Linked DNA regions of Homo sapiens: all the other regions are linked to region 1. Evidence: promoter capture Hi-C in human tissues and cell types (Jung and others, 2019). All regions are on one chromosome and are shown on one strand. The core of a region is centred on a gene start or on the middle of the fragment in contact, and the rest is flanking DNA. Distances in the headings are between cores, read along the strand shown.

What was found. Contacts are between HindIII fragments. The study calls those that stand out against the background at their distance.
Region 2: a contact is called between a fragment that was not itself captured here and the fragment with the promoter of MFHAS1 in region 1, in 1 of the 25 tissues and cell types used here (lymphoblastoid cells).
Region 3: a fragment that was not itself captured here is called in contact with the fragment with the promoter of MFHAS1 in region 1 in 2 of the 25 tissues and cell types used here (bladder and thymus).
Region 4: a contact is called between a fragment that was not itself captured here and the fragment with the promoter of MFHAS1 in region 1, in 2 of the 25 tissues and cell types used here (dorsolateral prefrontal cortex and mesendoderm cells).

What each region holds. Positions count from the first base shown.
Region 1 is chr8:8,892,233-8,895,054 of GRCh38, forward strand. It overlaps MFHAS1 (multifunctional ROCO family signaling regulator 1), which reads right to left and starts at 1,398. Exons shown (of 3, transcript NM_004225.3): 1 at 1-1,398. The coding sequence starts at 826. RefSeq lists an enhancer at 1-779 and silencers at 624-893, 1,004-1,283, 1,294-1,543. The HindIII fragment of the contact is 6,822 bases long and covers 1-2,822 here.
Region 2 is chr8:8,428,177-8,430,998 of GRCh38, forward strand. No RefSeq gene overlaps it. Among named protein-coding and RNA genes, the nearest start is that of LINC02949, 5.0 kb to the left of the region's middle. The HindIII fragment of the contact is 5,506 bases long and covers 1-2,822 here.
Region 3 is chr8:8,534,725-8,537,546 of GRCh38, forward strand. No RefSeq gene overlaps it. Among named protein-coding and RNA genes, the nearest start is that of LINC02950, 75 kb to the left of the region's middle. The HindIII fragment of the contact is 5,628 bases long and covers 1-2,822 here.
Region 4 is chr8:8,556,289-8,559,110 of GRCh38, forward strand. No RefSeq gene overlaps it. Among named protein-coding and RNA genes, the nearest start is that of LINC02950, 96 kb to the left of the region's middle. The HindIII fragment of the contact is 4,839 bases long and covers 1-2,822 here.

The sequences.
Region 1 (2,822 bases), core at 148-2,647:
TGAGCCGCTGCAGGCAGCTGAACTGGGCGGGCAGAGCCTGCAGCCCGTTGTTGTCTAGCATGAGGCTCTCCAAACTGGCCAGCTCGCAGAAGCCGGCGGGCAGCGTGCCAAGCTCGGCCCCACTCAGCCAGAGGATCTTGAGGGCACGCAGGGCACTGATATCCTCAGGCAGGCCCCGCAGCCGGTTGCTGGACACGTCCAGCTCCTCCAGGGCCACCAGCTGCAGCAGCTGCCGGGGGAAGGCAGTGAGCTGGTTGTGATCCACGTCCAGGGTGCGCAGGCGGGAGAGGCAGGAGAGGGAGTCAGGCAGGTGCGCCAGCCGGTTAAAGCTGACATCCAGCTCCTCCAGGTGAGCGAGAGCGCCCAGCTGGGCGGGCAGGGCGGGCAGCTGGTTGTGGCTGAGGTTGAGCTTCCGCAGCTCCCTCAGAGCACTCACCACCTCCGCGCCCAGGGCGGTCAGCCGGTTGTGGCTCACGTCCAGCTCGGTGAGGTGGTGGCCGAGCTCGGCCACCGCCGGGGGCAGCCGGGCGAAGCGGTTCCTGCGCAGGACCAGGACGCGCAGGCTGCCCAGCGCCGACCCCAGCCCCTCGGGTACCTCCTCCAGGCCGTTGTTCCCCAGGTTCAGTGCCTCAATGTCCCCGAGGTTGGCCGGCAGCACGAGCTGGGGGGAGGCGGGGGACTCGAGCGCGTCGGCCCCGGCCCCGGGGCAGGCCCCGGCGGCGGTAAGCGTGAGCTGGCGCAGGTTGCTCCGCAGCTTCCTGGCACGCAGGGCGGCGTCCCGCCACAGCCTCGCGGTCTTCAGGTTGCCACTGTCCATCCCAGCCATGGCGGGGCCCCGGGCCGACAGCCTCACGCGGACGCGGGAGCCCGCAGCTACATGCCGCGCCGCGCCCCGGGCCCTCCGGCTCCTGCCCCTGCCTGCCCTCCCGCGCTCGGCGGCCGGCGGCCGCGGGTCCTAGCGCAGCCAGCGGCCGAGCGCTGGCGGCTAGGGGGCGGCGGCGACGCGAGCGGCTCCGGGGGACGCCGAGCGCGTGGAGAGCAGCTTGCATTCTCCCTGCGGCCGGGCCATGGGCGCGCCGGGCAGCAGGGCCGCCGCCCGCGCGCCGCGGAGGATGCCTGCTCCTCCTCCCTCTCCGCCCGCCGCGCGGCGCCTCGGGGGGCCCGGCTCCGGCCCCGCTACCCTCGCAGCCGCGGTCCCGCGGCCGGCAGCGGCGTCGCCTCCTCGAGCTCCTGGGGGAGGGCGGCGCTCGGCCCGGCGGCGGGCATGCTGCGGGCGCAGGGCTGGGGCGCAGCCGCGGGGAGGGGGCGGCGGCGCCTCCTTGTCTCCGTTTCCCCGGGCTCGGGCGGGAGCGCGGGCGCCGCGTCCCCGGCGCTGGGAGGGCGCGATTGGGAAGCGGCAGCGCCGCCCGCCGGAGCGGCCCCCACGTGACCGGCGGAGGCGCCGCGTTTTCCCGGCACCGCCCCGGGGGCGGGAGCTGCGGAGGGCGCCGGGTGCGGGGCCGGGGGCGCCTGGCGCGGGGCCGGGTCCGCGCCCCGGACCATGCTGGGCGGGGAGGTCGTCCCAGCGGCGGATGTGGGGCTCCGGGGCCCCCCTGGTGGGTTCGCCCGCGCCTGGCTCTTTGTTGGCCCCCAGTCTCTAAGGATTTCTTTTTCTTGTTCTCTAATGCGTCGGATCCGCCGGCTTCCCTTACTCATCCTTTACCTGCTCCCCTGCCGCTCGCCTTGCATCCACGCCGTAGTGGAACTGGCACAACTCGGGGGCCCTGGGTATCATCATAGAAGCTTAGGACAAGAGTGTGGTTAAACAAAATTAGAACAGGCAACCATTCATTCATTTGGTAAATATTTCCTGAGGCCCTATTTCGTGTTGAACATGGGACAGGAGTAATGCAGGCTGGTCAGAGGAGAATAAAAAATACCAGGCAGCAGTTTCACTTGACTGGAGGCTATGGGCTGATAAGACCCTGAAAACCAGGGTGTGTACCAAGCTGGCTAAGACCGGCTGGACCCGACGTGGTCCTGGATTTGACCTAGGTTTCTCCTAGGCCTCCATTATACGCTCTTTAACATCCTAAGTCACACCAGTGCCATGACAATTCCGGGGACACCCATATTTGAAGTAAAAATGGGTGGCACCACAGTCCCGAAAAATCTCCACACTTTTCCAGGAATTTTCATGAATATTTCACCCCTTGGTTAAAGAAACCCATAAAGGTAGCAGCCCCAAGCCCCGTTGTGAGTGACCCTCTCCACAATCCCTTTTCCTGGGTGTGTACTTTTCCCTTTGCAATAAATCTGCATATTGTCACTATTTTCTGAGTTGTCCTTGAACTCATTCTCTGGATGTGTCAAGAGCCTGGACATTGGCTGGGGTCAAGGTCGCACTGGCTTTAGAGGATCTCCCCCAGCCCACCCGTACCAGAACTACTAAAAGACGGTTTTAACCCCCCTGGGGAAGGCTTTTGAGCAGGTGGCCCGCCAGCCTAAAGGAGGGTTGTTAAGATGGGGGGGACACAAGCTGTTTATCTGGGGTATCCCGTTTATCTTCACAACAACGCTGTGAAACAAATACTGTATCCCCATTAATACAGTACCTGTTGTTCTGCGGACTCAAGAAAACAGCTATTTTGGGAAACAGTCACAGTCCATTGTTCAACTCTAATGCTTATTTTTATTGCTGTTAGGAAATGTTTCTTTGAGCTCACATCTATGCTAAGTCAATAATTTCTCCCGAACTTATGAAAGTCTGGAAACCTACCAAGACTCCCAGTGTCACCTCCATCATTCCCTTCAGGTTGATTGATAAGGAAGCAAATAGTTTT
Region 2 (2,822 bases), core at 144-2,643, 460 kb before region 1:
ACAGATTGAATCCCTCTAACTCATGTGGCAAATAGATTATTCTCATTTCACAGATGAAGAAACTGAGGCTCAGAGAGGTTAACTTGTTTAATTTCATAAAGCATGAGAGTGGGAAGATGAGATTTGAACCCGAGTTCCTCAGAATTGTATAATATCTTGCTGTTTACTCTTTCTTTTCTCTCTCTCTCTCTTTTTTTTTTTTTTTTTTGTTGTTGTTGTTGTTGAGGCAGGGTCTCGCTCCATCACTCAAGCTGGAATGCAGCAGCACGATCGTGGCTCACTGCAACCTGCACCTCCCGGGCTCAAGAGATCCTCCCACCTCACATCCTGAGTAGCTGGGACTACAGGCACACACCATCATGCCTGGCTAATATTTGTATTTTTTGTAGAGATGGAGTTTCCCCATGTTGGCCAGGCTGTTCTCAAACTTCTGGACTCAAGCAATTCACCCACCTGTGCCTTCCAAAGTGCTGCAATTACAGGCATGAGCCATCATGCTTGGCTTACTCTTTTTTTTTTTTTTAAACAATCAGTTTAACTTCTGAAATGTTCATATTAATCCTGATGCTGCTAAAAATTGTATTTCTAGAGAAACTCACATTGGCACTTCAAAATGGATATTTTTGTAACCTTTACCAGAATACAACAAAGCTTCAGAACACCACTGAATGTCACAGTGAATTCGTATGGCTGGAGAGCTGCCTGGGAATTAAGGCTCAGATCCCAGGTTCGCTATGGAATAAAAATACTATTTCTGATAAGATAGATGGTCTCTCACTTTGGTACATTTTCTTCCACTCTTTTAAAACAAAGATGACTCTTTTTCTGTGTTTTTGCTTCTGAGATAATATGAAACTTCAGGAAGTCCTGTTTGGTTCAGTGGAGCCAACTGGGACAAAGTTGCTATAAAAATCTGAAGAATCAGCCCCTGTAAGGAACAATTTGACAACCACAACCATAGCCAGCAGAAACATGATTAACACCATCATCATCAATACTACCACAGCCATCATCACCATTACCACTATCATCAATATCACCAACAACATCATTTTTATCGTCACTGTCATCATTACCATCATCATCATCAGACTTTCCTAGGATAGGACAGATGAGGTAGTTTCCTCTTCCTCATGTGAATTTATGATTTTCCTATCATAAATTATCCCCCACAAGTTATCTCCCACAATTACCCATGCCTGTTCAAACTTCAAATATTTTAACCATGACTTTGACAGGATACAGACTTTGTGTAAGTGAAAACAAATATTCAAGATGCATGCATGGCAGAGGTCATTTACAAACTTCTCTCTTTGATCAGTCAAATTCTTTTCATTGTTTACATAATAGTGGTCAGCCTTCAAAAGTGTCTTTGAAGTAAGTTTCAATATATGCTTTGCCTGACTCACTCACCAACCCAAAACACACACACACACACACACACACACACACGCGCGCGCGATTGCATACACACACACTTACTTGTATAACAACTTGCTTATATACTGATGTTCTCTAAGTACAAATGTCCTCCCATGGCCTGTCTCTCAAGTCCCCAGATTTATACACTGTGTCACTACTAAACTTGGGATCAGATGTTGCTCTCTAAGTACAGGTGATTCTTTTTTATTTTTTTGAGACAGAGTCTCACTCTTGTCACCCAGGCTGGAGTGCAGCGGCAAGATCTGGGCTCACTTCAACCTCCGCCTCCCGGGTTCAAGCGATTCTCCTGCCTCAGCCTCCAGAGTAGCTGGGACTACAGGCACCTGTCACCACGCCCATCTAATTTTTGTATTGTTATTAGAGACGGGGTTTCACCATGTTGGCCAGGTTGGTCTCGAACTCCTGACCTCAGGTGATCTGCCCACTTCAGCCTCCCAAAGGGCTGGGATTACAGACACAAGCCACCATGCCTGGCCAAGTACATGTGATTCTAATCTACAATGACATGTAACACAAGAACAATATTTATTTATTTATTTATTTGAGACAGAGTCTTGCTCTGTCGCCCAGGCTGGAGTGCAGTGGCGCAATCTCAGTTCACTGCAAGCTCCACCTCCCGGGTTCATGCCATTCTCCTGCCTCAGCCTCCTGAGTAGCTCACACTACAGGCACCTGTCACCACGCCTGGCTAATTTTTTGTATTTTTAGTAGAGATGGGATTTCACCGTGTTAGCTAGGATGGTCTCAATCTCCTGACCTGCTGATCCACCCGCCTCAGCCTCCCAAAGTGCTGGGATTACAGGCGTGAGCCACTGCGCCGGGCCCGAACAAGCTTTATGTTTAAAAACTGTAACTCATAGATATGAGTATTAAGATTAATTTTTTAAGTTAATTTTTAATTAATTTTTAAAATTTAATTTAATTTTTTAAAATTAATCTATTGGATTTTAAGTATACAAAAGCTATTGTCCATTTCAGAATAGCAATATAAAAAGTCCTTAAGAATCTGTCTGAAGGCTGGGCACCAGACCATCCTGGCTAACACGGTGAAGCCACGTCTCTACTAAAATTACACACAAAAAAAATTAGCCGGGCGTGGTGGCGGGCACCTGTAGTCCCAGCTACTCCGGAGGCTGAGGCAGGAGAATCGCTTGAATCAGGGAGGGGGAAGTTGCAGTGAGCCGAGATTACACCATTGCACTCCAGTCTGGGAGACAGAGTGAGATTCCGTCTCAAAAAAAAAAAAAAAAAAAAAAAAAAATTCTAAGCCTTCTTATATGATATAAGTGATATGAGGTTTGGGATAGGGAGTAGCTGAGGGTCTTGTTTTTTCCTTTAATATTTCAAAAAGATATATGAGCTTTAAAAAGGTTAAAGTA
Region 3 (2,822 bases), core at 233-2,732, 360 kb before region 1:
AAAGAAAATAACTCTTAGTACAGTTAGCTCCCACTGTCATGATTCATGCCAAGGCTCCAAGAGTTCTACCCGCCATTGCATTTGTCCCATCCATACAGATGTTAATACAGTGAAAAAGCAAACAGGACCTTCATATTGTTAGAGAGATAGTTTTGACTTCGTGGAGCCACTGAAATGATTGCAAAGATCCCTGGTGGTGGTAGGGGGGTGTATTAGTCTGTTCTCATGCTGCTAACAAAGACATACCCCATACTGGGTAATTTGTAAAGGAAAGAGGTTTAATGGACTCACAGTTTCACATGGCTGGGGAGGCTTCACAATCATGGTGGAAAGTGGAGGAGGAGCAAAGGCACATCTTACATGGTGGCAGATAAGGGCATGTGCCGGGGAGCTCACCTTTCTAAAACCACCAGATCTCTTGAGACTTATTCACTATCACGAGAACAGCATGGGAAAAGCCTGCCCCTATGATTCCATTCCCTTCCACTGGGTCCCTCCCACAACGTGCGGGGGTTCTTACAATTCAAGGTGACATTTGGGTGGGGACACAGAACCAGACCATATTGGGGGTATCTATGAACTACTCTTTGAGAACCACATTCTAGAAGGACTGGGTGACCCCTGGAATCTGACATGACCCAGTCCTTCACGTGCGGGGTAGAGATACCAGGACTCAGGATCTAGGCAGCAGAATTCCCATCAGGCTTGGTCCCAAAATACTTCCTCTTCTCAAATTAGGTCCATTTCTAGCCTCATGGAACTTAACACATGAGTAGAGAGAGACAGACAATGAACAAAATAAATAAATAACATAGTATATCACAAAGGGATAAGTGCAGTGTAGAAAAGTAAAATGGAAAAAGAGACTGGGGTGGGGACGAGCTTTCCTATTTTAAACAGAGTGATCCTGAAAGCTTACCTTGGGCCCCCATTTAACCTCAACCACTTGATGAGACAAATCTTATTCCCATTTTAGAGATGAGGCAATTGAGGAACAGCTGGATTAAGTGATTTGTTGAGTGTCTCATAGCCAGTAAATGGCAGATCTGGGATTCAGACTCTAAAGCTTGATTCTCCCCACTGCACCTCATTCTCCCAGGTCTATAACAGGTCTCAAACATTAACTTCTAACTTAAGACCCAGCAACAATTCATTTTTTTCTTTTTTTGAAACAGGGTCTCACTTTGTCACCCACACTGGAGTGCAGTGGCTCGATCATAGCTCACTGCAGCCTCGAACTCCTGGGCTCAGGTCATCCTCCTGCCTCAGCCTCCTGAGCAGCTGGGATTACATGTATGTATCACCATGCCTGGATTTTATTTTATTTTATTTTATTTTATGTACTGTATTGTATTGTATTGTATTGTATTGTATTGTATTGTATTGTATTGTATTGTATTGTATTGTACTGTACTGTACTGTATTGTATTTGTAGAGACAGGGTCTTGCTTTGTTGCCCAGGCTAGTCTGGAACTCCTGGCTTCAAGCGATCCTCCCACCTTGGCCTCCCAAACCACTGGGATCACAGGTATGAGCCACTACATCCCTGGCCCTGCAACATTTCTAATTTGTCGCCCCAACTTTGATGTCCTAAGTCTATTTAGGGAAACACGATGACAATTTTTCAAATGGAAAAGATGAGCAAGGAAAAAGGCACAATAACCTCAGAAGACACCAAAATGTACATTTCAGGGAAAATCCTATGTTTGACCATTAGACCTTTGAGTGGATCTCCTTGTAGACACTGGATTTCACCTCTTTGTTTATTCTCTGAGTGTTTAGGAAGCATTTTCTTTGTTTGTGCATGGTAGTGGGTGCTGGGGGAGGAGCCCTACTTCCTATGCTGTAGCAGCTCACAGTTTTAGAGGAGAGGGAGAGAGGAACCAGGGAACATTCCAAAGGCAAGGGGAACCTCACAACCTTAACCAGCAGCATTAGAAGGTGAGGTTAATTTGGCTAAGGATTAGACACAAATGTATGAACACACACACACACACACACACACACACACACACACACACACACACACACATAGCTGATTCCTATGTCTGTGACCTAAGACCTCCTGCCCTATATTACATGAAACTTCTAAAAAGGACATAAATGGCTCCCACATCTGCATAACCTATATTCTCTCACTCCATACGACTAGGATGATGGGAACTTTATAAATGGAAACACTGGAGACAATCACTCTATTTAATCCTAACAGCCATATGACAAAGATATTACTTGTATCTCACAGATGAGGAAATTGAGGCTTTAAGAGCCTATTTGCAAGCTGGGTGCAGTGGCTCACGCCTGTAATCCCAGCACTTGGGGAGGCCGAGGCGGGCGGATGACCTGAGGTCGGGAGTTCAAGACCAGCCTGGCCAACATGGTGAAACCCTGTCTCTAATAAAAATACAAAAATTAGCCAGGCATGATGATACATGCTTGTAATTCCAGCTACTCAAGAGGCTGAGACAGGAGAATCACTTGAACCCCAGAGGTGGAGGTTGCAGTGAGCCAAGATCTTGTCACTGCACTCTAGCCTGGGCAATGAAGCAAGACTCCATCTCAAAAAAAAAAAAAAAAAAAAAAAAAAAAAAAAAAAAAAAGAGCCTATTTTCTTTACTTGGTTTATTTCTGTTTCATTGCTTCGGGCCTAAGCAACCACACAACTGAAGCCATCTCCCATAAGAAAGGTGTGCCCAGTCTCAATCCTGTTCCCAAAACATCCCCAGGCCATGCTTCCCACGCCCTCTGGTTTTACACTTTCTGCCTCTTCTTTCTGATTCAGCATCCATCCTCCTCCTTCTGCCTATGCCTTGCATTTCCCC
Region 4 (2,822 bases), core at 200-2,699, 340 kb before region 1:
ACTCAGAGCAGATGCTCACAACTCATTCCCAAGGCAAAAGCTTCCTCAAATGTCGAGGATACTCTAACCCTTGTAAATTATAAAATGGTCTATGCATGAATATAATTAGATTCAACAATTACAAAATAAAGAAAAATGATGGCTGGGATAGATGCATAAGTTTAATGAAACCCCAAGCATCAAATAGAGGTCAAAAGTTTCTCTTTTTATTAATCTTTAAAGTATGAGTCAGCTGTTGAGTTCATTGTGACAGTTATGGAAATATTTAGTCATCAAACCAAAAATGCTTTATGGCAAACTCCAAATATTAAGTATTTATTTATTTATTTATTTATTTATTTATTTACTTATTTAGAGATAGGGTCTCTTTTGTTGCCCAGGCTGGAGTGAAGTGGTGCGATCATTGCTTACTGCAGCCTCTACCTTCTGGGCACAGATGAATCCTCCCACCTCAGCTTCCCAAGTAGCTGGGAGTACAGGTGTGCCCCATTATGCCCAGCTAATTTTTTGTACTTTTTGTAGAGATGGAGTTTCACTATGTTGCCCAGGCTGGTCTCGAACTCCGGGGCTCAAGAAATCTGCCCGCCTCAGCCTCTCAAAGTGCTGGGATTGCAGGTGTGAGCCACTGCACCCTGCCTAGTCACTGATTAATCTACTTTTAAAAGTCTGAATCAATTGGGGCAGATCAAAGAGGATAAACTGATGTTAAGAAATGTAAAAGATCAGCAGAAAAACTGGACCCTCTGCCAAACTACAGGTAGTGCTCTCTAGCCTTTCCTGAAGGGCCTTGGAATACAGATATGAGAAGCACGTCAGTGTGTTATTAGCAAGGTTCTTAGCAGGCTGTGCTTTGCCACTTCCTTGAGAGTCAGCTGTCCCAAGGCAGAGATCTTTACAATTCGACCCAGACACTGTCGGTCATACCAGGAACTCCAGCACAGAACTTTCTGGAAACTCAGATGTGAGCACTCTACTTTCACTTTGTCATACTCATTTTAGAAGTAAATAAAATATACTGTAAAATTTATATACCATATGTCAGCTATGGGCAAATGATGTTATTGGAAAAAAAATCAAATTATGAATACAACATTCTTCCAATTTCTGAAGATACTCAGCTTAGTTCTTTCTCAATGGTGGGATTATAGATGGCTTTTTTTTTCATGCTTTTCTATATTCAACAAATATTACTTTAATAGTTAGAAAACATTTTAAAATACTCTATTCTCAATAAAGCATGTAAAAGAAAATAAAGATGATAAGCATAAAAAGTATTTAAGCTGGCTAGAAATTATAAGATAAAAATTAAAATAATCACTTTATATTATCAGATGGGTTAACAGAAAGAAAACCTACTAAATCCAAATATCAGCAAGACTACCCAGGAACTGACCCATCAGACATTGCTGTCAACAGTTTAAATTGATAGCATAGTTTTAGAGAAGAATCTACAATAAGTGAAAATATTCTTCCCATTTGACTAATTATAATGATAGTAATTTATCCTAAGGAAGTACTTCAAAAATAGAAAAACAAACCATAAGCACAAGGCTTTTATTATTTTTAAAAGCAAAAAAAGTTTGTGAGAAAAACAATATAAAATAATAAATTGGCTAAGTAACTTGTGATATGTAAATTAATATGATTTTAAGTACCTATTAATATATGAAAACCATATGAGCATAAAATTGTTTATAGCAATGCTAAGTTTAAAAAGAAGGAAAAGTCTACATATAATATGATTAAAATGCATAAAAATATGTAAAATGTAACTAAAGACTAGAAGGAAGCCATGGAGAAATTAGAATAATTGTGCTTGAGTCATGAGATTTTGAACGAAATTTTCAAAAAAAGTACAAGATTTTATTTTTAATGGAAATTTCTTTGTAATAAAGTATTTTAACACAAAGTATTCTCTTCAGCAACATAAAATTATTCTAAATAGAGCAGATTATGTGTTTCTTCAGACGCAAACAGGGTTTTCACCTCCTTATTTTTACCCTCAATCAGATAGGTAGCATTGTGTGTGTATTCTTAGCATCTGTATTCTTACAATTCTTGCAGTTCAATCTCCCTAGTGTAAAAAGTTCCTTTTTTAGTTTCTCCCCCAAATATGAAAACAATCAAGAAGCTATAATAATCAAAACAGTGTGGTATTGACATAAGGATAGACATACAGATCAATGGAATGGAACTGAGAGCCCAGAAATAAAATCATACATCTGTGTTCAATTGATTTTTGACAAGAGTGCCACCAAGACCATTCAATGGGGAAAGGATAGTCATTTCAACAAATGGTGCTGAGACAATTAGATAACCACAAGCAATAGAATCAAGTTGGATCCCTAACTCACACCATCTACAAAAATGAACTCAAAATGAATCAAACACATAAATGGAGGAGCAAAGACTATAACTCTCCTAGAAGAAAACATAGGGGTAAGTCTTCATGGCCTTGGATTAGGCAATGATTTCTTAGATGTGACACCAAAAACCACAAATGCAAAAGAAACAATAGATAAATGAGACCTTTTATCACAATTAAAAACTCTGCTTCAAAGGACACCTGAGGTGGGCAGATCACCTGAGGTCAGGAGTTTGAAACCAGCCTGGCCAACATGGTGAAACCCTGTCTCTACTAAAAATATAAAAATTAGCTGGGCGTGGTGGCACGTGCCTGTAGTCCCAGCTACTCAGGAGGCTGAGGCAGGAGAATTGCTTGAACCCAGGAGGCAGAGGTTGCAGTGAGCCAAGATTGCATCACTGCACTCCAGCCTGGGTGACAGAGTGAGACTTTGTCTCAAAAAAAAAAAAAAAAAAAA